3 separate regions of the Homo sapiens genome follow, and all the other regions are linked to region 2. The links are contacts of gene promoters, found by promoter capture Hi-C in blood cells and fetal thymus (Javierre and others, 2016). All regions are on one chromosome and are shown on one strand. The core of a region is centred on a gene start or on the middle of the fragment in contact, and the rest is flanking DNA. Distances in the headings are between cores, read along the strand shown. Region 1 overlaps SLC35D4 (solute carrier family 35 member D4). Region 2 holds the start of RBBP8 (RB binding protein 8, endonuclease). Region 3 overlaps SLC35D4 (solute carrier family 35 member D4).

Region 1 (2,700 bases), core at 130-2,629, 500 kb before region 2:
AGACATATTGTAAGATATTTAGCCGCCTTATTAACAGACATTTATGTTCTATTTTGGGGGTATGAAAACAATGTTACTAGACATTTTTGTGTTAAAGTCTGCCAGATCTCCAACTATTTCTTTGGGATTGATTCCTACATAAGAAATTTGGTTTAGGCTAGGCGTGGTGTCTCATTACTATAATACCAGCGCTTTGGGAGGCTGAGGCAAGAGGATTGTAGGAGGCCAGGAGTTCAGGACCAGTCTGGGCAACATAGCAAGACACTGTCTACAAAAAAAAAATAAAAAAGAAAACTGGCTAACCATATGCAGAAAAATGAAACTGGACCCCTTTGTCTCACCATATACAAAAATTAACTCAGGATGGATTAAAGACTTAAATGTAAGATCTCAAACTCTAAAAATCCAAGAAGAAAACCTAGGAAATACTTTTCTGGACACTGGCTTAGACAAAGAATTTATGGTAAGTCCTCAAAAGCAAATGCAACAAATACAAAAATTGACAATTGGGACCTTATTAAACTAAAGACTTTCTGAACAGCAAAAGAAACTATTAACAGAGTAAACAGACAGCCTACAGAATGGGAGAAAATATTTGCAAACTATGCATCCAACAGAGGACTAATATCCACAATCTATAAGGAACCTAAATAAATCAACAAGAAAAAAACTAAATAATTCCTTTAAAAGTGGGCAAAGTACACGAATAGACACTTCTCAAAACAAGACATGCAAGTGGCCAACATATGAAAAAGTGCTTAACATCACTAATCATCAGAGAAATGCAAATCAAAACCACAATGAGATACCACCTCATACCAGTCAGAATGGCTGTTATTAAAAAGTCAAAAAATGGCCGGTGTGGTGGCTCATGCCTGTAATCCCACCACTTTGGGAGGCCAAGGTGGGAGGATTACCTGAGGTCAGGAGTTCAAGATCAGCCTGACCAGCATGGCGAAACCCCATGTCTACTAAAAATACAAAAAAATTAGCCAGGCATAATGGCACATTCCTGTAATCCCAGCTACTTGGGATGCTGAGGCAGGAGAATGGCTTGAACCTGGGAGGCGGAGGTTGGAGTGAGCTGGAGGTTGGAGTGAGCTGAGATTGCACCGTTGTACTCCAGCCTGGGTAACAAGAGTGAAAATCCGTCTAAAAAAAAGGCAAAAAATAACATGTTGGCGAAGTTTTGGAAAAAAGGAAACGTTTATACACTGTTGGTAGGATTGTGAATTAGCTTAGCCCCTATGGAAAGCAGTTTGGAGACTTCTAAAAGAATGAAAAATAGAATTACCATTTGACCCAGCAATCCCATTACTGGGTATATACTCGAGGAAAATAAATTCTTCTACCAAAAATATACCTACACTCACGTGTATTTTATCACAGCACTATGCATAATAACAAAGACATGGAATCAACCTAGGTGCCCATCAACAGTGGATTGGATAAAGAAAATCTGGTGTATATATATACCATGGAATACTATGCAGCCGTAAAAAAGAGCACAATTATGTCCTTAGCAGCAGCATGGATGTAGCTGAAGGTCATTATCCTAAGTGAATTAACACAGAAAGAGAAAACCAAATACTGCATGTTTTTACTTATAAATGGCAGCTAAACATTGGGTACACATGGACATAAAGATGGAATAGTAGACACTGGGGATTCCCCAAGGGGAGAGTTAGGGAGAGAGGTAAGTAAGGATTGAAAAACTACCTATTAGGTACTGTGCTCACTGTTTGGGTGACAGGATCAATAGAGGCCCAAACCAGCATCACGCAATGTACCTGTGTAGCAAATCTGCACAAGCACCCCTTGAATCTTTAAAAAAAAAAAAAAAATTAGCTAGGCATGGTGACATGAACCTGTAGTCTCAGCTACTCAGGAGGTTGAGACAGGAGGATTGTTGGACCCTAAGAGTTAGAGGCTGCAGTGGGCTGTAATCATGCCACTGTACTCCAGCTTGGGTGACAAAGTGAGATCCTGTCTAAAAAACATAAAAATTAATAAATTTGGGTTAAAGTGCATGAACTTCTTTAGTATTCTCCTTGAATATTAACATATTCTTTTCCAAAAATGTTTTACCAATTGACATTGCCACTCAGCCTCTACGTGAATGTTTCTATAATATTGTACTCAAACTGTGATTCTCTTTGCTGATTTCATGAGCAAAAGGTATGTTGTTTTGTCGTATAATTTTTTAGATTATTCATCAAGGTGGACAATTTTCTTATGCATATGATCCACTTGTATCTCTTTTTTAGTGAATTGTCTAGTTGTGCCTTTTACCCATTTATTTTCATTGAGGTTTTAGTGTTTTTCTTATTAATTTAATAAATTCTTTTAATTTTTTTATTATTATACTTTAAGTTCTGGGGTACATGTGCACAATGTGCAGGTTTGTTACATATGTATACATGTGCCATGTTGGTGCGCTGTGCCCATTAACTCGTCATTTACATTAGGTGTATCTCCTAATGCTATCCCTCCCCTCTCCCCCCAACCCATGGCAGGCCCCTGTGTGTGATGTTTCCCACCCTGTGCCCAAGTGTTCTCATTGTTCAATTCCCACCTATGAGTGAGAACGTGTGGTGTTTGGTTTTCTGTCCTTGCGATAGTTTGCTCAGAATGATGGTTTCCAGCTTCATCCATGTCCCTACAAAGGACATGAACTCATCCTTTTTTATGGCTGCATAG
Region 2 (2,700 bases), core at 54-2,553:
CGAGTTAATGGGTGCAGCACACCAACATGGCACATGTATGCATATGTAACAAACCTGCACGTCGTGCATATGTACCCTAGAACTTAAAGTATAAAAAATAATAATAAAATAAAGAAAAAATACCTCTCTGCAGCAAAAAGAAAAAAAAAGAAGACATAAACGATTTCTATTAAGTCAACAGTTTAAAATGAAGGTTTAATTACTTCAATGACCGAAAAAGTATTAACATATTCGTTTAAAGAGTGTAAAATAAGCATCCTTTACGTATCTATCTTCAAGTAAGTGATGTACAGTGCCTTAAAAACAAAACATAAAAACAAAACATTCAACTTGCAAATTCTGGCTCGCAAAACCCTTTCCACCTACCCGCATGCCCGGCACTTTTTGTTAGCATCTCTCTCTGCAATGAACCGTTATTCGAGGCACGACGACAATGTACATTTTTCAATCTCTCAGAACGTCACGTCTTACCTCCCAAGTTGCATTCTGGGCTCAAAGGCCTGTAATTTGTGTGTATTCCTTAGTATAAACCACTACACTGCAGGTGCTCACCAAAATACTCGCTGCCACACCACAGGTATTCTCACACGGGTAAGGCGAGAGGCACATTTCATCACACAGGGGACTTGAACAAACTGCACGGGACATTTCAGGGGTCCTCTTATGGGCGGAGCAGAGCAGCGGGGCAAAGGCTTTCCAGCCAGGTCCCTTCTCCATCCATTTCTCCCCAGGTGCCCGCGCCGGTTCCGCGTGCGGGTCTGGCCAAAAAACCTCCGAAGCGCGCGCGCGAGCCGCAGTCGGCGCATGCGCGGGGCGGGCTTGGCGGCGAAAGGCGCTTCCTCAGCCCGCGCGGGAGACCCAGAAGTAGTACTGAGGTAGCGCTCGTCCTCCCGCCGGTCCACCACCACCGAGTGTAGCCCGGGCCCGGCCTATTTCATCAGACACAACCCCAGAGCCGGGAGCCACCCCTACCCCGGGAGCCCTTCGCCAAGCACGCAGCTCCAGACCAGAAGCAGTCGCTCCGACCCAGAGCTCCGGGTGGGGTAAAGAGATTGCTTTTACTCACCGCCTCCGAGATTGCCTCGGGATTCGCGAAAGCCCCCGAAGGGAAGCGAGCACTTTCTGAGGCTGTGAAAGGACGGCTGCTCGCTTTTCTCTTTCGCCCTTTTCCCTCACCAGAGTGCCAAATCCTCGGTGGGAAAGCCGACCCCTCCGGACAGCCCGCGCTTTAAGGCCGGGGGCTGCCGGCCGGGCTCGGAGGCGGCCGGACCCGCCCCGCCCGGGAGCCCGCGCGACGTCACGCGGGAGTTCCACTTGCGTCACGCCCCTTCCTCCAGCTGCCCATCGCGGCGGCGCACTTCGTGCCCTAGCTGAGGAGCGGGCTCTTCGGTGCGGCCCATCCCGGAGGGCGATGGTTGGGGAGGGGAGCGCTACCTCGGAGCTGCCGGGAGCTACCCGAAGAGTCTGGCGACCGCCACAGCATTTCTGAATTGCGCTGGGGAAAGCTCAAGCCGTTCTGTTGGGGGAGCATCAAGCCCTTGCGGTTCTGTGAAAGTTATCTGTACACTGTGTCTAGCTTAAGCATTTTGCAGGGAAGCATGTGTAGAGTGACCTGTACCGAATGAAGAGTTAAAATTAACTGATGGGGGGTATGGACGCGGATCCGTCTAACATAGTTTTCGGCCTTGTCGCTGTTATCTGCAGTTTAGTGATGTGACCTGACAGGGTTGTGCGGTAACGCCATAGATCAAAACGATCTGTATTTTGCTGAGGTTAAACGGGAAGTTTCTGGCAAATTTGAAACGAGAAGGAATCTCCTTCAGCATTATTTATTGGGACAACATGCTGTTAGATAATTTTTTTTAAAAAGTCCATTTTTCTTGTGGCTGTTCGTTTGAGATTCAAACCGATAGTAGGTATTCCTATTTCTCCTGATTTGTAAAAGAATCGTTTTTAGACCACTAGAAATTCTACAAATGAACAAAATAGACTAGAATCAAATATCTTTTAAACCAGTCCAGTACTTTTGTGTAATTATTCTAAGACCTGGGAAGGGATAATATTAACAGGCTTTAAAAGTTTAGTACTTAGAAATCATAAATACAAAGTGGAAAGGTAATTTTTCCACCTGTCCCACATCTTAAGGGATGAATAAATATAACTTAAAAAGTTAGTATACAGAAGAGGGGTGCTAAACCTTCTATTAGCCTGTTACAGCAACTATCATTCACTTCCCCATTTTATAAGACTTAACTCCACATTTTTAAAAGAAAATGGATGAAATTTTGACTATGTAATTTTTAACGCAAGATAGGAAACATAATTGACAGAGTGAAGCTTTTATGTTTATGACAGAAATAACCTGTAATAAGTTTGTCATTTAACAGAGTATTGAAAGAGCAGTGTGCTGTGGTCTCTACTGTGGTCCAAAGAAAAACTGAGCAGAATGACCCAACCTGTTCCTATGGCCTCTGCCTGTGTCTCACTCTCTAATCCATTTATGCAAGTCAGAAACCAAAGAGTCATCCTTGACACTTTATTCATCCCTAACTTCCATATCCAAGCCATCACGCAGTCCAATTTTACTTACTAAACATGTAAATCCATCCCCTTCTCTCCATCACTACCTCCATAATCCAAGATACTGTTATTTCTTACCTAGTCTACTGCTAGGCTCCTTTCCACATCCACGCTACCAAC
Region 3 (2,700 bases), core at 194-2,693, 460 kb before region 2:
GACAGAGTTTTGCTCTTGTGGTCTTGTGGCTCAGGCTAGAGTGCAGTGGCACAATCACAGCCCACTGGAGCCTCGACCTTCTGGGCTCAATAGGCTCAAGTCATCCTCCCACCTCAGCCTCCCAAGTAGCAGGGAATACAGGTACTTGCCAATACACCCAGCTATTTATTTATTTTCTTTTAGAGATGGGGTCTTGCTCTGTTGCCCAGACTGATCTTGACCTCCTGGGCGCAAGCAATCCTGCCGCCTCAGCCTCCCAGAACACTGGGATTACAGGCATGAGCTACTGCACCTGGCATGGCAGCTCTTCTAACTCCCCACCTTTTGCCTTTTCAGAATTGTTTCTTTAGGGCCAATGCGTATGGATTTTAGAGTGAGCCCAGGGTGTAGTAGTCATTGTATAACATTAGACTCTTTCAGTTGCAAGTGTTAGAAAGCTCAAAAACTGGTCTAAGCAAAAGGAAGATTTACCAGTTCATATAACTGAAAAGTCTTGGGGTAGAAACCTATGTCACGAATGGCTTTGTCCAGAGGCTCCAGTATTACACTCAGAATCCAGTTTCTCTGTCTTTCAATTCTGCTCCCCATCTTTGTTTCTTTTCACATCCAGCCCACCCCTATAGCAACAATGAGTGTTGTACAGCTGCCCCCAACAATGGGTGTCAACTGCAGCCTCACATTCTCACAACTTTAGTGGAAAGAGACCATTTTCCTGGTAGTTCCTGCATGAGTCCCAGGCTTCACTCTGATTGGATCAGTCAGGGCCACTGCCCATCCTTGATCTGAAAACTGACCACAAGGTTGGAATTATGTTGATTGGCCAGCCCTGGTTCAAGACTTCCCTGAACCATTCACTGTGGTTGGAGACACTTGGAGGCCTATTCATGTAGGATCTCTGCCTGGGTCCCAGATATGGAGAGCAGGCTGTAATGGATCCTCAATGTTGGAGTGCTTTACCCTCCCCCCGCCGCCCCACACACACACAAAGAGGTACTGATACTAAGTTGCCAAACCCTCTCAGAAGACCATGGTAAATGTCAGTCTAGTGTGTTTTCAGGCAGTTGGGGAGTTCTGCAGCCTTCAACAACGCTTCTTGAGCTGTGATCTGCAGCTGTCCTGGTCTTTGAATTCTTTGTTACCTGTCCATGAAGAGATCGACTTTGGCACTAATCACACTGTTTAATTGAGCTGGCTTTTTTTTTTTGCAAGACATTTTGAAGGAGGAAGCGATGCATTGATTTTACATTCTCTTGCCAACTCCTTATCTTCTCGAGGACCAGCACTTTGAGTGGCATTCCTCTAGAGCACAGCCTTTTTTTAGAGATGGGGGTCTCACTGTGTTGCCCATGCTGGCCTCAAACTCTTGGGCTCACGTCATCCTCCTGCCTCAGCCTCCCGAGTAGCTGGGACTACAGACACGGGCCATGCACCCTGCTGAGAGCACATTCTTCTTAAATAAGCAAAAAGAAGCTGTTGCAATTCAAAATCTTTGAACAAAGGGAAACAACCAAAAACCAAATACACCCAATTAGAGTGGGAGGAGGGCGGAAAGCAGATGCTTATTATTGTTTTATAGTAAAATAACTCAACCCAGCATCTTTTCTTTGTTTCTGAGTTCTTTGTTTTTACATCGTTGCTTAGAAATTCATAGGGTGGATAAACATGAGGCACTTGTACAGTTTGTGTTGGATAGAAAACAGGCATCAATATGCTGGTGCCAAGCTGTCAGTTTAATGAATCCATAAGGAATGGGGGAAAAGCGCTCCATTAAAATCCGTAGATGTATTGTTATGCAAAACACTTTCGGGGTAGCTCTGCTCCATAAAGCCCTCCTTTATCTGACAAGACCTTGAAGTTCTGTTCTCCTGATCTGTAGCTTCTGGGAGGAAGCTGAGTTAACTCTGCACAGATGCTATGGGAAAAGCTCTTGGTTGATTTTTCTACCTCAGACTCACAACCAAATGATCTACAGAGTTAAGGGAAAGGAGATTTTTCTTGTAGCTGTCCATTCACTACATAGTTATTTGGGACCTACTATGTGTTGGGGGCATAAAGACAAATAAGACCTGGTTTCTGACCTTGAGGAACTGAAAGGGATGGGGCAGGGAGTGAAAGACACACAGCTCACCATGGGAACAGCCACCATGAATATTTGATGTTAAGCATGTGCCAGGCACTTTCTGTCACCAATCTTGATGAAGTGTGAGTTGGACTTGGGCTGATTCGGGCCTGCTTGCCCAGCTTTCCTACACTGAGTAAGGTCACAGTGATCATGGCTCTGATGGGTGAGTGTCAGTCTTGGAGGGACAGTATGACTTTGATGGCTCATGACTCTTCTTATAATTTCCTGGTCAAAAGCCTTCTCAGCTGGACAGGACTGCCTCAGCCTGTGCTGGCCAGTGTTCAGAAAAGATGTACAAATTCATACATTACTGAGCTTGGTGGAGAGAGGCCATCCTGGCATTGGCAATTTGGCTCAAGCCATGCTGTTTTCTTGCTTGGGGGAGGCCAGGGTCTGCAGCTGGAGGGACCCTAGAAGTCTAGGTCAAGGCACCTTGACAGGACAGGAATTGTTTTCCTTGCTGAGCTCTTTGATCTTGGTCCTTCCTAATGGCTTGTCCTTGTTTCTCTCTTCCATGAGCACAATATTCACTCAACATACTGGGGATGGAGATGGGATTGTGTGTGCGGTAGGGGGAT

Evidence for each region. Contacts are between HindIII fragments. The CHiCAGO score rates a contact against its expected background, and 5 or more counts as called.
Region 1: a fragment that was not itself captured here is called in contact with the fragment with the promoter of RBBP8 in region 2 in 7 of 17 cell types (non-activated CD4 T cells, naive CD4 T cells, monocytes and 4 more); the score reaches 7.8 in non-activated CD4 T cells.
Region 3: a contact is called between a fragment that was not itself captured here and the fragment with the promoter of RBBP8 in region 2, in 3 of 17 cell types (total CD8 T cells, M0 macrophages and total CD4 T cells). The highest score is 5.4, in total CD8 T cells.

What each region holds. Positions count from the first base shown.
Region 1 is chr18:23,427,829-23,430,528 of GRCh38, reverse strand. All of the region lies in intron 2 of SLC35D4 (solute carrier family 35 member D4), which reads left to right. Among named protein-coding and RNA genes, the nearest start is that of SLC35D4, 8.8 kb to the left of the region's middle. The HindIII fragment of the contact is 6,062 bases long and covers 1-2,700 here.
Region 2 is chr18:22,931,931-22,934,630 of GRCh38, reverse strand. It overlaps RBBP8 (RB binding protein 8, endonuclease), which reads right to left and starts at 1,303. Exons shown (of 19, transcript NM_002894.3): 1 at 1,067-1,303. RBBP8-AS1 (RBBP8 antisense RNA 1) reads left to right here and starts at 867. Exons shown (of 5, transcript NR_198963.1): 1 at 867-1,043. It overlaps MIR4741 (microRNA 4741), which reads right to left and starts at 1,282; the gene lies at 1,193-1,282. RefSeq lists enhancers at 510-559, 920-1,049, 733-1,573 and a silencer at 1,180-1,259. The HindIII fragment of the contact is 3,221 bases long and covers 1-2,339 here.
Region 3 is chr18:23,395,369-23,398,068 of GRCh38, reverse strand. All of the region lies in intron 4 of SLC35D4 (solute carrier family 35 member D4), which reads left to right. Among named protein-coding and RNA genes, the nearest start is that of SLC35D4, 41 kb to the left of the region's middle. The HindIII fragment of the contact is 3,960 bases long and covers 1-2,700 here.